Regions from separate parts of the Homo sapiens genome. Here regions 2, 3, 4 and 5 are each linked to region 1. Evidence: promoter capture Hi-C in human tissues and cell types (Jung and others, 2019). All regions are on one chromosome and are shown on one strand. The core of a region is centred on a gene start or on the middle of the fragment in contact, and the rest is flanking DNA. Distances in the headings are between cores, read along the strand shown.

Evidence for each region. The method cuts DNA at HindIII sites, captures the fragments that hold promoters and counts their contacts. A contact is called where the count stands out against the background at its distance.
Region 2: a contact is called between a fragment that was not itself captured here and the fragment with the promoter of CHST8 in region 1, in 2 of the 25 tissues and cell types used here (dorsolateral prefrontal cortex and small bowel).
Region 3: a fragment that was not itself captured here is called in contact with the fragment with the promoter of CHST8 in region 1 in 3 of the 25 tissues and cell types used here (dorsolateral prefrontal cortex, liver and spleen).
Region 4: a contact is called between a fragment that was not itself captured here and the fragment with the promoter of CHST8 in region 1, in 7 of the 25 tissues and cell types used here (bladder, dorsolateral prefrontal cortex, lymphoblastoid cells and 4 more).
Region 5: a contact is called between a fragment that was not itself captured here and the fragment with the promoter of CHST8 in region 1, in 8 of the 25 tissues and cell types used here (H1 embryonic stem cells, dorsolateral prefrontal cortex, heart left ventricle and 5 more).

The regions. Positions count from the first base shown.
Region 1 is chr19:33,620,678-33,623,377 of GRCh38, reverse strand. CHST8 (carbohydrate sulfotransferase 8) reads right to left here and starts at 1,425. Exons shown (of 5, transcript NM_001127895.2): 1 at 1,082-1,425. RefSeq lists an enhancer at 1,720-2,464. The HindIII fragment of the contact is 24,734 bases long and covers 1-2,700 here.
Region 2 is chr19:33,742,167-33,744,866 of GRCh38, reverse strand. All of the region lies in intron 3 of CHST8 (carbohydrate sulfotransferase 8), which reads right to left. Among named protein-coding and RNA genes, the nearest start is that of KCTD15, 53 kb to the left of the region's middle. The HindIII fragment of the contact is 3,245 bases long and covers 1-2,700 here.
Region 3 is chr19:33,499,475-33,502,174 of GRCh38, reverse strand. It overlaps PEPD (peptidase D), which reads left to right. Exons shown (of 15, transcript NM_000285.4): 4 at 1,174-1,237. Among named protein-coding and RNA genes, the nearest start is that of PEPD, 21 kb to the left of the region's middle. The HindIII fragment of the contact is 5,542 bases long and covers 1-2,700 here.
Region 4 is chr19:33,705,088-33,707,787 of GRCh38, reverse strand. All of the region lies in intron 3 of CHST8 (carbohydrate sulfotransferase 8), which reads right to left. Among named protein-coding and RNA genes, the nearest start is that of CHST8, 84 kb to the right of the region's middle. The HindIII fragment of the contact is 7,606 bases long and covers 1-2,700 here.
Region 5 is chr19:33,526,438-33,529,137 of GRCh38, reverse strand. No RefSeq gene overlaps it. Among named protein-coding and RNA genes, the nearest start is that of PEPD, 6.0 kb to the right of the region's middle. The HindIII fragment of the contact is 5,201 bases long and covers 1-2,700 here.

The DNA of each region.
Region 1 (2,700 bases), core at 176-2,675:
TCCCCTTAACGGAGCTGATCACGGCTCCTGAGCCAGCGGGAGTGGCCCAGGGACGCAGAGTCCTCTGGGACGCCGGAGACGACTGCAGGACAGAGAGCCCCAGGATCGGCGCCTACTTCTGGGTTAAAACAGACAGCCGGGCAGCAGCGCCCACAGCCGAGGGCGCCGCAGCCGCTTCAACTCCGGGTCGGGGTCGCGGGCCTGGAGACAAGATGTACGCGAAAGTTAGGGCGGCGGGAGTCCCGCACTGGAGAAGGAATCGGGGTCACATCAGACCCAAGCCCCAGCATCGGGCACTGCCAAAACCCGTGATCGCCCTCCTGGCCCGGCTGGCCTCCAGCGAGGCCAGAGCGGGTCTGCAGAGTCGGTAGCCGGAGTTGCAGCCGCCGTCAGAGCTCGGCTCGGTCCCGCGGCCAAACGGATCATTTCCCCGCCCCCTGGAGCCGCCCCAGGCTCCGACTCCCGCACTCCCGACACACGCACGCACACACCTTCACACCATCGCTGACGCACGCACACTCGCCTCCAGCACTCACAGGCCGGTGCCCTGGAGAGTTGCGGGTCGGGGACGCGCGCGACGGAGCCGCTGGGTAGGAAGCCAAGGCCACTTAAACTTCCCCCATAGTCTCTGCCCGCCGCAACCCGTCCGGAGCCCCGGCTCCGAGCGCGCCAGGAAGCCCCAGCGCCCCGAGCGCTCCTGCCTGGCCCTCGGCGCTCGCTGCTCAGCGCCCGACGCCGCCTCCCCGCGGGCAGCACCGAGGGCCAGGAGGCGGAGCGGGAGTCCGCAGGGACCAAGAGGGCCCGAGGGACGGCAGTTCCCAGAAGCGCGGCAGCGAGTGAGATCCAAGGAGAGAAAGTCTAATTAAAGTTCCCGCTACCGGGGCCGGTCCCCAAAGTGCAACCAGACCCGAGCCCCGCGCGCCCACCTCCGCCCGCAGCTTCGGACTCCCATTCGCGTGCGGTGGCGGGGATGGCGAGCGGTGCAGTCCGGGGCCCGCTCGGGACCCCTTCCTGGCGTCTCTGCAGGCCAGGAGCCTGCGCAGGGCGGGAACAGGGGTGGGGCAGGGGCGCAGCCACTTACCTGGCGCAGCGGACGCACCCGAGGCCGCGGGCGCCTCCAGTCCGGGAGCGGTTCTCCGCGGCGGATCCTCTGCTTGGGGCGCGCAGGCGGCGGAGAGGACCTCCGACCCAGCTCGGGCCCGGTGCCTCCGCCCGCTCCAAGCGGAACCCAGTGCGATCTGTGGGCGAGCAGCGTGGGGCCGGCAGCCGGAGCGTGCGGGGAGCGAGAGGGCGCGGGGCGGCGTTCCTCTTCGGCCCCCGGCGCGATCGGTCCCCCACCTCCTGCTGCCGCCGCCGCCTCGTCCTCTCTCCTCCCCGCAGCACTGCCGGATCCGGCTTGCGCGCCGGGAAGGCTCCCAGCGAAGTGAGAGCGAAGCCTCCGGCGAGGCTGGAAATAGCGCCGCGCCCGCCCGGCGCCCCGCCCCCGGCCCGTGCCCCGCCCCGCCGTGGTGGCGGCTACGGCGGTGGCCGGGCCGGGCGGGGATCGCTCCAGCGATGCACTCGGCCCTCCCGGGGGCTCGCGGGCGCCGCGCCCACGCGCGCTCTGCGGCTCCCGCGGCCCCTCTGGCAGCGCTCTCAGAAAGAGTCGCTGCTGGGCGCGGTCCGGCGGCCGCGGGGGTGGGAGCGGTCGTGGCTGGGGCTGCGCCGGTCTCCCGGTTCAGGAGAGCCGGACTCCGGCCTGACGCTAGGCTCCAGACCGCGGCCAGTGCTGCCACTGCCTCGGTGGGTCGCACGCGGCGCCAACCCGGGAAAAGGACCAGGCGTCACCGGGGCGGGCCTTGACCACAGCGGGGCAGGGGCGCGCGCCCAGGACCCGATGCTGCGGGGGCGCAGGGCCGGTGAAAGGCGGAAGATTGATCCTGAGGAAGATTCTGGGATATCCCTGGGCTTCAGCTCGCGTGGAATTCGGTCAAGGCCGCGAGCTGCCTCAGGCCCGGGTGTCCGCATCCATCCTCAAATCCCTGGGGCTCTAGATTCTGCTGAAAGTGCCCTGCGAACAGGTGCTCCCTTCAGGACTTCATCCTGGAAGTTTGTGTCGGGTCACCAGCCTGAGAGCGGGGCCAACCGACCCTCTTCATACACACTCGGGAAAACAGCGTGGAGGGTGGAACCGGCCCACGGCCACACAGCACCGGGACAGAGTAGGGACAGGAACACGGGGCCCTGGATTCGGGTCCTTGTTCTTCCTAAGAAGAGGCAGCCCCAGCCTGCAGGGGACAAGCAGGCCTTGGGAAGGGGGGCAACTGCTTTCTCACAGGAGCTGGAGGAAACTGTGCACACAGTCACCTGTTAGTCTTGAAGGGACACTCAGTATTTTCAAACAACAGCAGAGAAGCCTTTAATAAAGTGAAAGACCCTTACTCTCTCCTCTCTAATGGTACCTGCTGGCTGGTTGGCCTGACTCCTACCAGCTGACCTAGAGTGAGTGATGGAATTGGGGAGTGAGCTGGGCCCATGGGTCTTGACTGACCAGAGTGGGGGACACCAGGCGGAGAGCAGAGCCACTCCTGGGGACGGCCAGGGAGCCCCTCAGCCCCAGGGCCATGAGGCCTCCTTAATGCCCCAGGTAAGCTCAGAGCATCCAAAAATAGACCAGGACAGATAAGAAGATAAATAGAAGCATGACAAAGAGATCATGGT
Region 2 (2,700 bases), core at 135-2,634, 120 kb before region 1:
TGAGGCAGGAGAATTGCTTGAACCCGGGAGGTGGAGGTTGCAGTGGGCTGAGATCATGCCACTGTACTCTAGCCTGGGCGACAGAGCAAGACTCCGTCTCAAAATAAATAAATAAATAATAAATCAATTAATTAATTAGGTGGGGGTTGTGGTGCACACCTGTGGTTGCAGCTACCCAGGAGGCTGAGGTGGAAGGATTGCTTGAGCCGAAGAGTTCATTCGAGGCTGCAGTGAGCTATGATTGCAGCACTGCACTACAACCTGGCTGACAGAACAAAACTGTCTCTTAAAGAAAAAAAAATGAAGGGGAGAAAGGAAGAGTATCCAGCTTCTGAAGGGTGACTCTTGGCAATGGCAGGCACCTGGCTGAGAAGGAACAGGACCCTGAGAAATGCGTTGGGGACTGTAGGTCGATGCCTGTGAAAGTCTTGAATTCCCAGATTTCCTCTAATCTTCTGGGCTGCAGAAGCACGCCACCCTCTGCAATACAGGCTGGTGGTCTTCCATTAATTGAAGACACCGCAGAGGTCTCTGTCCTGCAACATAACACATGCCTTCCTCAGAATCTGCCCCCACCTTTTCTCCACTAGACCAATAACTACGGTTAAATCACAGCATGTCCCCACTGGGGAAGTGCTAGATTTGCTAAGGGAAGAAAGGAACTATACCCCAAAAGAAAAGAAGGATCCAGAAATCAGGTATTGGCAGGAACCAGGAGAGTACACATAGACCTTGACGCTGGGGCAGGGTGTGCGGGGTAGACAAGAGATCAGAGAGGCTGGGCACGGGGGCTCATGCCTGTAATCCCAGCACTTTGGGAGGCCAAGGCAGGTGGATCACCGGAGGTCAGGAGTTCGAGACCAGCCTGGTCAACATGGTGAAACCCTGTCTCTACTAAAATACAAAAATCAGCCAGGCGTGGTGGCAGGTGCCTGTAATCCCAGCTACTTGGGAGGCTGAGGCAGGAGAGTCACTTGAGCTTGGGAGGCAGAGGTTGCAGTGAACCGAGACTGCACCACTGCACTCCAGCCTGGTCGACAGAGTGAGACTCCATCTCAAAAAAAAAAAAAGAAAAAAAGAAAAAAGCAGAACACAAAGTTGGATAGAGCAGTAATTGATAAGGGAGGATTCTCTTGGGTTAGAGGATCTGACAGTGCAGCAACGACCCCAGGAGACGATGCAGACATGCTGCTAGATGGCTCTCAGATACGTGCAGAAAGCAATGCCCACACTCAATGAAGCAGGGATGATAGAATTGCTGTGGTAGGCCGGGCGCAGTGGCTCACGCCTGTAATCCCAGCACTTTGGGAGGCCGAGGTGGGCAGATCACGAGGTCAGGAGATCGAGACCATCCTGGCTAACACGGTGAAATCCCGTCTCTACTAAAAATAGAAAAAATTAGCCGGGCGAGGTGGTGGGCGCCTGTAGTCCCAGCTACTCGGGAGGCTGAGGCAGGAGAATGGCATGAACCCCCGGGGGGCGGAGCCTGCAGTGAGCCGAGATCGCGCCACTGCACTCCAACCTGGGTAACAGCGAGACTCCGTCTCAAAAAAAAAAAAAAAAAAAAAAAGAATTGCTGTGGTAGATAGTGCAGGAAGAGATCAAAAGGCTCCCAAAGGTGGTTATGCTACAGTGGACATGCTAGGGAAAGCTGGAAAATCCACTACTGCCTAGAAGATACCCCCACCCCTTTCTAAAGCAATATAGAACACACTGGTGAGAGGGGAAGGAGGATCAGGGGGCATATGTTGTGTTGTAGGACAGAGATCTCTGTAGTGTCTTCAATGAACAGAGGGCCACCAGCCTATATTGCAGAGGGCAGAATGCCTCTGCAGCCCAGAGAGTTCAGGAAGCACCAGCATGAGTGAGAAGCCCAGCAGTGCCTCTCCTCTGTAGGACAGGGCTGAATGTAGGCAGTGCCACTACAGACCTGGACACCCCGAGACTGATGGGGGACAATAGGATTGTAAAATAACAGAAACCACACGGTGGTACTTAGCCATCATAACCAAAGTGTGCACACTTGTCCTACTGAGTAGCAATGTTGGTGTAGCAGCCAAGAGGGGCTGATCTGCAGAGAGCTATGGAGGTGGTCACCAAAACATGGCATCCCAAAAAACAAGAAAGTCAGGTGGTCGACAAGCCGATATATACAACAAAAACAAATCAAGGAGGGGTGATCAGCTGTCCCAAGAAAATGGCACAGTTCTTTGCCCACTGTTATGGTTTGGATGTTTTGTCTCCTCCAAATCTCATGTTGAAATGAAATCCCCAATGTAGAGGTGGAGTCTGGTGGGGTGTTTCAGTCATGGGGGTGCAGCCATCATGAATGGCTTGTTGCCCTCCCCATGGTAATGAGCGAGTTCTTGCTCTGTCAACTCACATGAAAACTGGTTGTTTAAAAGAGTCTGGCATGTCTCTTGTTCCCTCTCTCGCTATGTGACATGCCTGCTACCCCTTCGCCTTCTGCCATGAGTAAAAGCTTCCTGAGGCTGAGCAGATGTTGGTGCCACGCTTGTACAGCCTGCAGAATGATGAGCCAAATAAGCCTCGTTTCTTTTAAATTACCCAGTCTCAGGTATTCCTTTATAGAAACACAATGCAAACTAATACACCCAGTTTTCAGATCCAGAACTCAGTGACCAAAGGAGAGACCACATCCCCAAGAAGAACCCCATGGCATCATGGCAAATACACATG
Region 3 (2,700 bases), core at 37-2,536, 120 kb after region 1:
CTTGGCTCTCAGTGTCTCCCCTGTGCAGTTTGTGTTCCTTTCCCCTTGCGTAAGCTCTGTCACTAACAGAGACATTGACTTATCTCCTGACCAAGAGCCTGGGGGTGGTGGCTTGCTGGACCCAGGCTGGAGGTCTGCCTAGCACAGCTGTGACCAAAGGGCCCATCAGGAGGTGGACGAGGGCTGCCCAACCTCATCCATTCTGTGTCTTCTCACTGGCAGATTTTTCAGGGGTAATGAATAAGCTTGAGTTTTTCTCATCACATTGAGTAATACTGATACTGACTTTCTAAAAATGCTAATTTTTGGCTGGGCACAGTGCCTAATGCCTATAATCCCAGCACTTCGGGAGGCTGAGGCAGGAAGATTGCTTGAGACCAGGAGTTTGAGGCTGCAGTGAGCTATGATTGTGCCACAGCACTCCAGCCTGGGTGACAGAACGAGATGCTGTCTCTAGAACATAAAATAAAATAGTAATAATAATAATTATTATTATTTGAGATGGAGTCTCGCTCTGTCACTCAGGCTGGAGTGCAGTGGCACCATCTTGACTCCCTGCAACCTCCGCCTCCTGGGTTCAAGTGACTCTCCTGCCTCAGCCTCCCGAGTAGGTGGGAGTACAGGCACCCGCCACCGCGCCCTAATTTTTTGTATTTTTAGTAGAGATGGGGTTTCACCGTGTTAGCCAGGATGGTCTGGATCTCCTGACCTTGTGATCTGTCTGCCTTGGCCTCCCAAAGTGCTGGGATTCTGCGGCTGACCTTAAAATAAACTTTCCTTTAAAGATGCTCCATGAAGACCTGGCAGGCAGATTGTTTTATGCCACAGAGGGACGGGTGCACTGGCTGGCTGCCCTGGTGGACTGTCTCTGGCAGTGGAGGGGATGATAGGGGTTTTGTCTGCAGGGGCTGGCTGCAGGTGGCTAGGGTCACGGAGGAGCGGGGCTTGCTGAGGAAAGCAGCTGTGGTTCAGCCGTCACTCCATGGCCTAATGGCCTTTGCCCTCCAAGTGTGTGTTGGGCCGACCTGTTCGGTGCCGGGTGCTGGGTGCTGGGTGCTGACCGTGATAGGGATGGGACTGGGGCTCCATGGCCTGGGCTTGGCAGGCAGGAAGGTGGCCATGCTGAGCCATTACCAAGCCCTGACCCTGATATTCCTTGTGCTTTTCTTTGAGGATCCATTCCAAGGAGCACTTCAAGGAGAAGTATGCCGTGGACGACGTCCAGTACGTAGATGAGGTGGGTAGCCGGCTCCTCCTCTGAGCAGCCCAGGGCTTCCAGCATGCCTTCCACTCCTGGAGTTCCTCTCCTTCCACTGCCACAACCTTGCTGGATGTCAGGGACACTACCACCTGGCCACCAGTCCCTGCGCCGCAGGTGCTCCCATTTGGAAGGAGTAGGCAGCAACCCATGCCTCAGGCTTCTCTACGGAGCCATTGCTTTGCCTGGGAAGGCCCCTGACTCTGTGGGTAGAAGTGTCTGGTGACCTGGGTTGTGGCCGCTGAGATTACATGAGGTGTCTCTGAGAGGCGGGCCTGCCTGCAGCGGTGGCACACGGTCTAAGTCACCACAAGGCTGGGCCGGGGTCTTCGTGTGTCTCGAGCCCTGGTTGACTGCAGATGCCACTGTCAGAAAAGCCCGAGGCTGTGAAAGGCTTGTAGAGTAGCATTGGAGGTCCCCTGACTTCAATCCACTTCTCAGTGGGGTTGTCCAGCAGGTGTCGTGTGGCCTGGGTAGGCATGTGGCTGTCCTCTTGGGGTTTTGAATCTGTGCCAACCAAGTTCAGGCAGGTCAAAGGGGCTGCCCTGACTCCTCGACTCCAGCTCTCCTTCCTGCCAGTGGGGCAGGGCTGGGACAGAGGCGAGAGCACAGCTGGGAGCCCCTGTGGTCTACTTGACCAAAGGCCCTGACACTAAACCACTGCCTGGCACACAGGAGGCCTCTGTGCTCTGGCCCTGGGCGCTGTCACAACCCCACGTCCTGTGCAGGTCAGTGCCGTGTAGAATGTGAAGCACCCAGAAGTCAATGCCTGCCACTGGGAGTCCAACCTGGACCTGGCAGCATCAGCTTTGGACAGGGCCATCCTGTAGCCACATTTCCCCAGACAGAGATTATGTGTCGGCCATGCTAAGAGCCGGGGCTGCAGTGTGGAAGTGGCCAGGGGAGCCAGTTCTGGCGGCCAAGCAGCTTCCCCCTTCCCCTGGGCAGGACACAGCCTGGTTGAAGATGACGGCACTGGGTGAGAAGCAGGTTCCCAGGGATCATGGCCAGACACAGTGCTGTGAGAGACCAGTTGTCTCTGCCCAGCATGTGGGGGCCCAGCCCGGCCCATCCAGCTCGGGGGTGGCCAGCCCTCTTTGACTGCAGGTGGGCCAGTACCATGTGCCCAGCCCTGCCCCCGGTACTGCTGTCCTGGAATATGTTTTCCATTTCTCTGTCTTTCTCCTATCCATCTTTTGAGGCCTTGCACCAGCCTTGTAGCAGCCACTGTATCTGCTGTAGACTCTGGCCCACACTGGTGCCCCTTCCCTGAGCCCTCAGGACCAAGTTGTGGACACCATGGACGCTGACTGTGTTCTGATGTGCACCCTGCCCTTGACTGTCTTGTATTTGTCTTGAACGTCCAGTTCTTTTTCCCCAGACGTTCCTCTTGCACTCTTTCCCTGCCCAGTCCCAGGGACATGTAGGGCATCAGAGGTGGC
Region 4 (2,700 bases), core at 7-2,506, 85 kb before region 1:
AGCCATTCTACTCCTAAATATTTACCCAAGAAAAATGAAAACATAGGTTTGCATAAAAACTTTCACATGAATGTTCATAGCAGCATTAGTCCTAATGGCCAAAAGTATCAACAATCCCGTATCCAGCAGCTGGTGAACAGATCAACCGCAATTCCATGTAATAGAATAATATTATTTGACAATAAAAAGAAACAAACTGATATGAGTAAATATCAAAAAATATGACTCTCAAAACCATCATGCAGAGTGAAAGAAACCAGATATGATAGACCACACAGTGTATGATTACATTGATATGAAATGTTTAGAAAGGGTAGCGCTATAGTGATAAAAAGGAGATTTGTAGTTGCCTGGGGCTGAGGGTGAAAATGGGGAGTGATTGAAGTGGGCACAAAAGATTTAGTGGCGGGGGCAATGGAATTATCCTAAAATTAGGTCAGGCTAGGTGGCTCATGCGTGTAATCCCAGCACTTTGGCAGGCCAAGGCAGGAGAATCACTTGAGGCAAGGAGTTCAAGACTAGCCTGGGCAACACAGCAAGACCCTGTCTCTACAGAAAAATTGGAAAGTTAGCCGGGCACAGTGGCATGTGCCTGTGGTCCCAGCTACTGGGGAGGCTGAGGTGGGAGGATCGCTTGAGCCCAGGAGTTTAAAGCTGCAGTGAACTCTGACCTGCACTTTAGTCTGGGAAACACAGCACCCTACCCCTGCAACACTGCTAAAATACCTGCTTGGGAGGAGTCAGGGTGGACCCCAGAAAGTCCCCATCACCTTACTCACTGTGAGGCCCCATTGGAGCAGGGATCTTTCAGTAAACGTCTCTAAAATAAGTGAGTGAAAGTGGAAAATTTCCCTGGCAGGAATAACACACCTCCTCCCGGCCTGTGGTCCTCCCACAATCATGGCCTGTCCTTTTCACTCCCCAGTGAAGGGACGAGGCCTGCACACATTTTGCAAGCTCTGTGTGTTGTACACGCTTGACGCGCACAGTTGATTTAAGCCCAGAAAATCCTTTAATTACTGCCGCTACTTCTGGCTGGGTTCTGGGAAGGAACTAATTCAAGCAGCGATCACTTGACCTGAAATATTATGAATGTAATTTCATTATTTGGTCTGTGCGGGTCGTGGGCAAGGGGTTACAATAATTGGCTTTGCTGAGTGCCTGCTGGAATGGCAATTTGTCACCCAATCCTGTGGCTGACAACCGACAGACAACTCACTCTGTGGGGCCCAAGTCATTTGCCCCTGCCTGCCCCATGACCTGGCAGGTGACATTGTCAGGGTACGCTCACAGCAGCCAGCCCAGACTTCAGGGTGAAGTGCTTTCCACATGAACCGTAAGGCATCTGTCCACCCATGGGTGTATAGTAATACTGAGGTGAGCACACATACTTGTACACAGCTAGGATTATGGGTGAGGGCCAGATGCACACACACATGCACACACATGGGCACCTGACTCTTCATCAGGACACACACACGTGTGCACAAGAACCAGAACATGTCTGCTGTGAGCAGGAATGAAGCACGCCCTGACAGTCTGAAGGGCAGTGCCGTGCAGCTCCCCAACCTCTAACCCAGGCTGGCCCTCCAATGCCATGCATCTCATAGTGTGGTGCTTGCTCCCAGCCCTGAGTGGTTGTCCGGTCACCAAGAAGACTTCAGACTTTTGGGATCTGAGGAACCGGGTTTTAGTTCAAGCACTGATACTTCCTGGCTGTGTGACCTTGGGCAAGTGACTTTGCCTCTCTGTGCTTCAGTTTTTTCATCTATAAAATAGAGACGGGTACAGCGAGGCTCTGGCATGAGGATATTGGTAAAGCATGTAAAACACAGTGCCTGGTACACAGTAGGCACTGAGTGCTCACACCATCATCATTGCCCATACCACACCCCTGGATGCCACCTCCTTGAATGCTCTCAGGACTCTTGGGTCCCTCTCCTAGTACTGGGGACATCGCTGTGACACAGAGGCAGCAGGGAAGGCGAATCTGCAGAGTCCCTTGCTGGGCCAGGCCAGGCCCCTCTCCAAAGGGACCCTTGCTGAGTGTGGCTGCCATGGTGCCCTAGGGGGGCAGAAAGGGAGCCAGGGTGGCCATGCCTGCCACACCCCATCACTGTGGGAAGCAGGCTGCCAAGTCAGAAATCCTCCTCCATTTACACCCACGGGCACCCACACCCGCATCTCCAGGTAGATACTGGAGAGAGTGCCCACTCGCAGGAAAGCTTTGCTTGAATTGATTCTTCCTTTGCTACAGCAACAGAAGCTTGTCAGTGGGTGCAAATATTTGCATGTGAGTAACTGTGCGTAAATGAAGGAGGTTTTAATTAGGTGCGCTCCCCAGAACCCCACTCTCTGGCCCTTGCCTTCCCTGTATCTCTGCTGACCAGTCACCTCCCCGACCCCTCAGGTCCCCTGCCTGACCTGAACAGTGAACAGGTATCTGGCAGGGCTCCCGGCTGCTGAACCAAACAATGCCACTGAGGGGCTCTGTGCAGCCACTGTTGGTCAGCGGAGCCCAGGAGATGCTCTGCTCATGGACCGCTTGGGGTCTGGCTTCATGGGGGTCCTATGGGGCTGGAAGTAATTCTTAGCATCCCCTTCCCACCAGGAGACCCACCTCCTCTGTGTCCTCCCAGGGGGTATAGGGAGAGCAGGCATGGAGCCAAATAGGGCCTAGGGGGCAGGTCTCAGCCCTAC
Region 5 (2,700 bases), core at 195-2,694, 94 kb after region 1:
CTTGCAGGCTATCTCTTCCTTACATGCAAATCCATGCGCACAAGCAGAGCCCTGTGGCTGAAGCCCCGGACTGGACCAGAGGCCCTGGGTGTAGCGAGGAAGCATCTCCCCTACCCTGGAAGACTTCCTGCTCACCCTTGTTCCTCTCTTTCCCTTTAGCACTGCTGTGTTTGGCTGGACTGCCAGCCTGCTTGCTTGAGGTGGTGTGGCAACCCCAGGTCCCAGCCAGTCCTCTCAAAGGGGCTAAGCACTGGCCCCCTGGGCTTGGGGTTATGGACTCACTCCTTCGGTCAAGGTCGCTCTGTAGCTGAGCAGGGCTACAGTGACCTCACAGGTCATCTCCCCCACCTTCACACCTGGGAGATAAGGATGCTTGTCTCTCCTCACTGCCCCTACCCCTCACATGACCACTGAAATAAGGATAGCACCCCCATGAGCCAGGGGCTGAGCTGAGTGTCTCCTGTGACATTCATCTAATCCTCTCAACAATCCTCCCAGCTGGGACCCATCGTCCCCATTTTACCAATGAGGATGCTGAGGCTCAGAGAGGTTGGGTTATTTTCCCTATGCCACACAGCAAGTAAATAGCAGTGCCAGGAATCGGACCTAGCTTCCTACATCCAATTCCTAACCACTGTGTCCAGGTTCTCTAATAATAAGTACTGCTAGGAATGATGGCTCATGCCTGTAATCCCAGCACTTTGGAGGCTGAGGTAGAAAGATTGCTTGAGCCCAGGAGTTTGAGACCAGCCTGGGCAACACCGTGAGACCCCATGTCTACAGAAAACATGTTTTACATTAGCTGGGGGTGGTGATGCACACCTGTAGTCCCAGCTACTTGGGAGGCTGAGGTGGGAGGATTGCTTGAGCCCAGGAGGTCGAGGCTGCAGTGAGCAATGATTGTGCCACTGCACTACAGCCTGGGGGACAGTGCAAGACCCTGTCTCAAAAACAAAAAAAGAGCAGTAAGTATCAATAAGGAAAGTAACTACCACCACATTTGCATCATGTTAAACTGCCCCCAAGGGCCTTAGTGTTCAAGGGGTCATCTGACCCCTTGGAACTGCCCTGTCAGGGAGGTAAAGCCCATCCCATCTTCATCTCCAAACGGGGAAAGCGAGGACCAGAGACGTCAAGCTGCCAGGAGTCAAGCCCAGGCTTCTGGCTTTGAAGTCCATGCACTTCTTTCTCCATCACACAGTTTCTATTCGAGCATTTTGTGCTCAGGGATATTTATTTGGCAATGACATGGAGGCAGAGCTAGGTAAGAGCTCCAGAGCCAAGACACTGGAAATAAGCTGGGATGGCGGCACACGCCTGTGGTCCCAGCTACTCAGGAGGCTGAGGCTGAAGGATCGCTTGAGCCCAGCAGTTTAAGGTTGAGCTATAATGGTGGCATTGCACTACAGCCTGGGCGACAGAAGGAGACCCTGTCCCCCCATCACTCAAAAAAAGAAAGACAATTGTGTATCCTGTCCCCCGGCATGTAAATCAAAAATTTAAATTATACCAAACCATCAAACAAGAAATTCACACTTATGCTAAAACGAAAATAGCTGCATTCTAGACATTCTGATTGAAATATTCAGGCTTTTATCCAAGCTAAACTTTTCAAGGTTTTACTTGTGGGGGTAGGTTTTGTGTATCTACCCCCACCTCATCTCACCCCATATACACACATCCCCACCCCCAGCAGAAGCCAAAAGGGACATGATAGCCAAGGTGTGGGCATGAGACTTGGGCACTGCAACTGGCTGTACTGCCCATCAAGCGCTTTGAGCATGCAGGGGGTGAAGCCAGGACACTGTATCAGTCCCAGTTACGCCCAAGGGCAGAGTGATGGCAAGGGTCTGAGCAGCTGTGCCAGCTGCCATGTCCTGGGGGTAGCCTGGTGGTGCACTCAGCTGCCAGCCTCCCTGCCTCTGCCTGTTTTCTGAGTCTGTCTCTCCTGCAACTGTGCAACTGGACAGCATTTGAATGTATCCCTCTTCTACTTGAGGTGAGACTCAGGAGCTGCTTGCTACAGAAAAATCTTGACGAGTCGGGGCTCAGAATGAGAAGGGACTGCAGCCAAGTAGTTATGCAGGTGAGCAGCAAAAGAGCCACGGGAAGGAAGAGGCTGGAGGAGAGACAAGACATTGAGGAGGAAGTGCAGACAGGGGTGGGGTCAGGAGCAATCCCAGTGGATGGAGCGGGAGGAGACACAGGTGATCTCATCTTGATGGTGGCATGGACAGAAGGACCGGCAGGTGCTTTCATGAAATGCTTCTTAAAATGACACCATCCTGGCCAGGTGCAGTGGCTCACGCCTGTAATCCCAGTACTTTGGGAGGCCGAGGCAGGTGGATCACCTGAGGTCAGGAGTTTGAGACCAGCCTGGCCAACATGGCAAAACCCCGTCTCTACTAAAAATACAAAAAATTAGCCAGGTGTGGGGGCGGGCACTTGTAATCCCAGCCACTCCGGAGGCTGAGGCAGGAGAATTGCTTAAACCCAGGAGGCAGAAGTTGTGGTGAGCCGAGATTGTACCATCGCACTCCAGCCTGGGTAATAAGAGCAAAACTCCATCTCAAAAAAAAAAAAAATAAAAAGAAAAGAAAAGAAAAGAAATGACACCATCCTAAAATGACAAGCATCCTTCTTAAAATGACACCCTGAGCAGAGTCCCTAAAAGGAACAGTTGAGGCCAGGCTCAGTGGC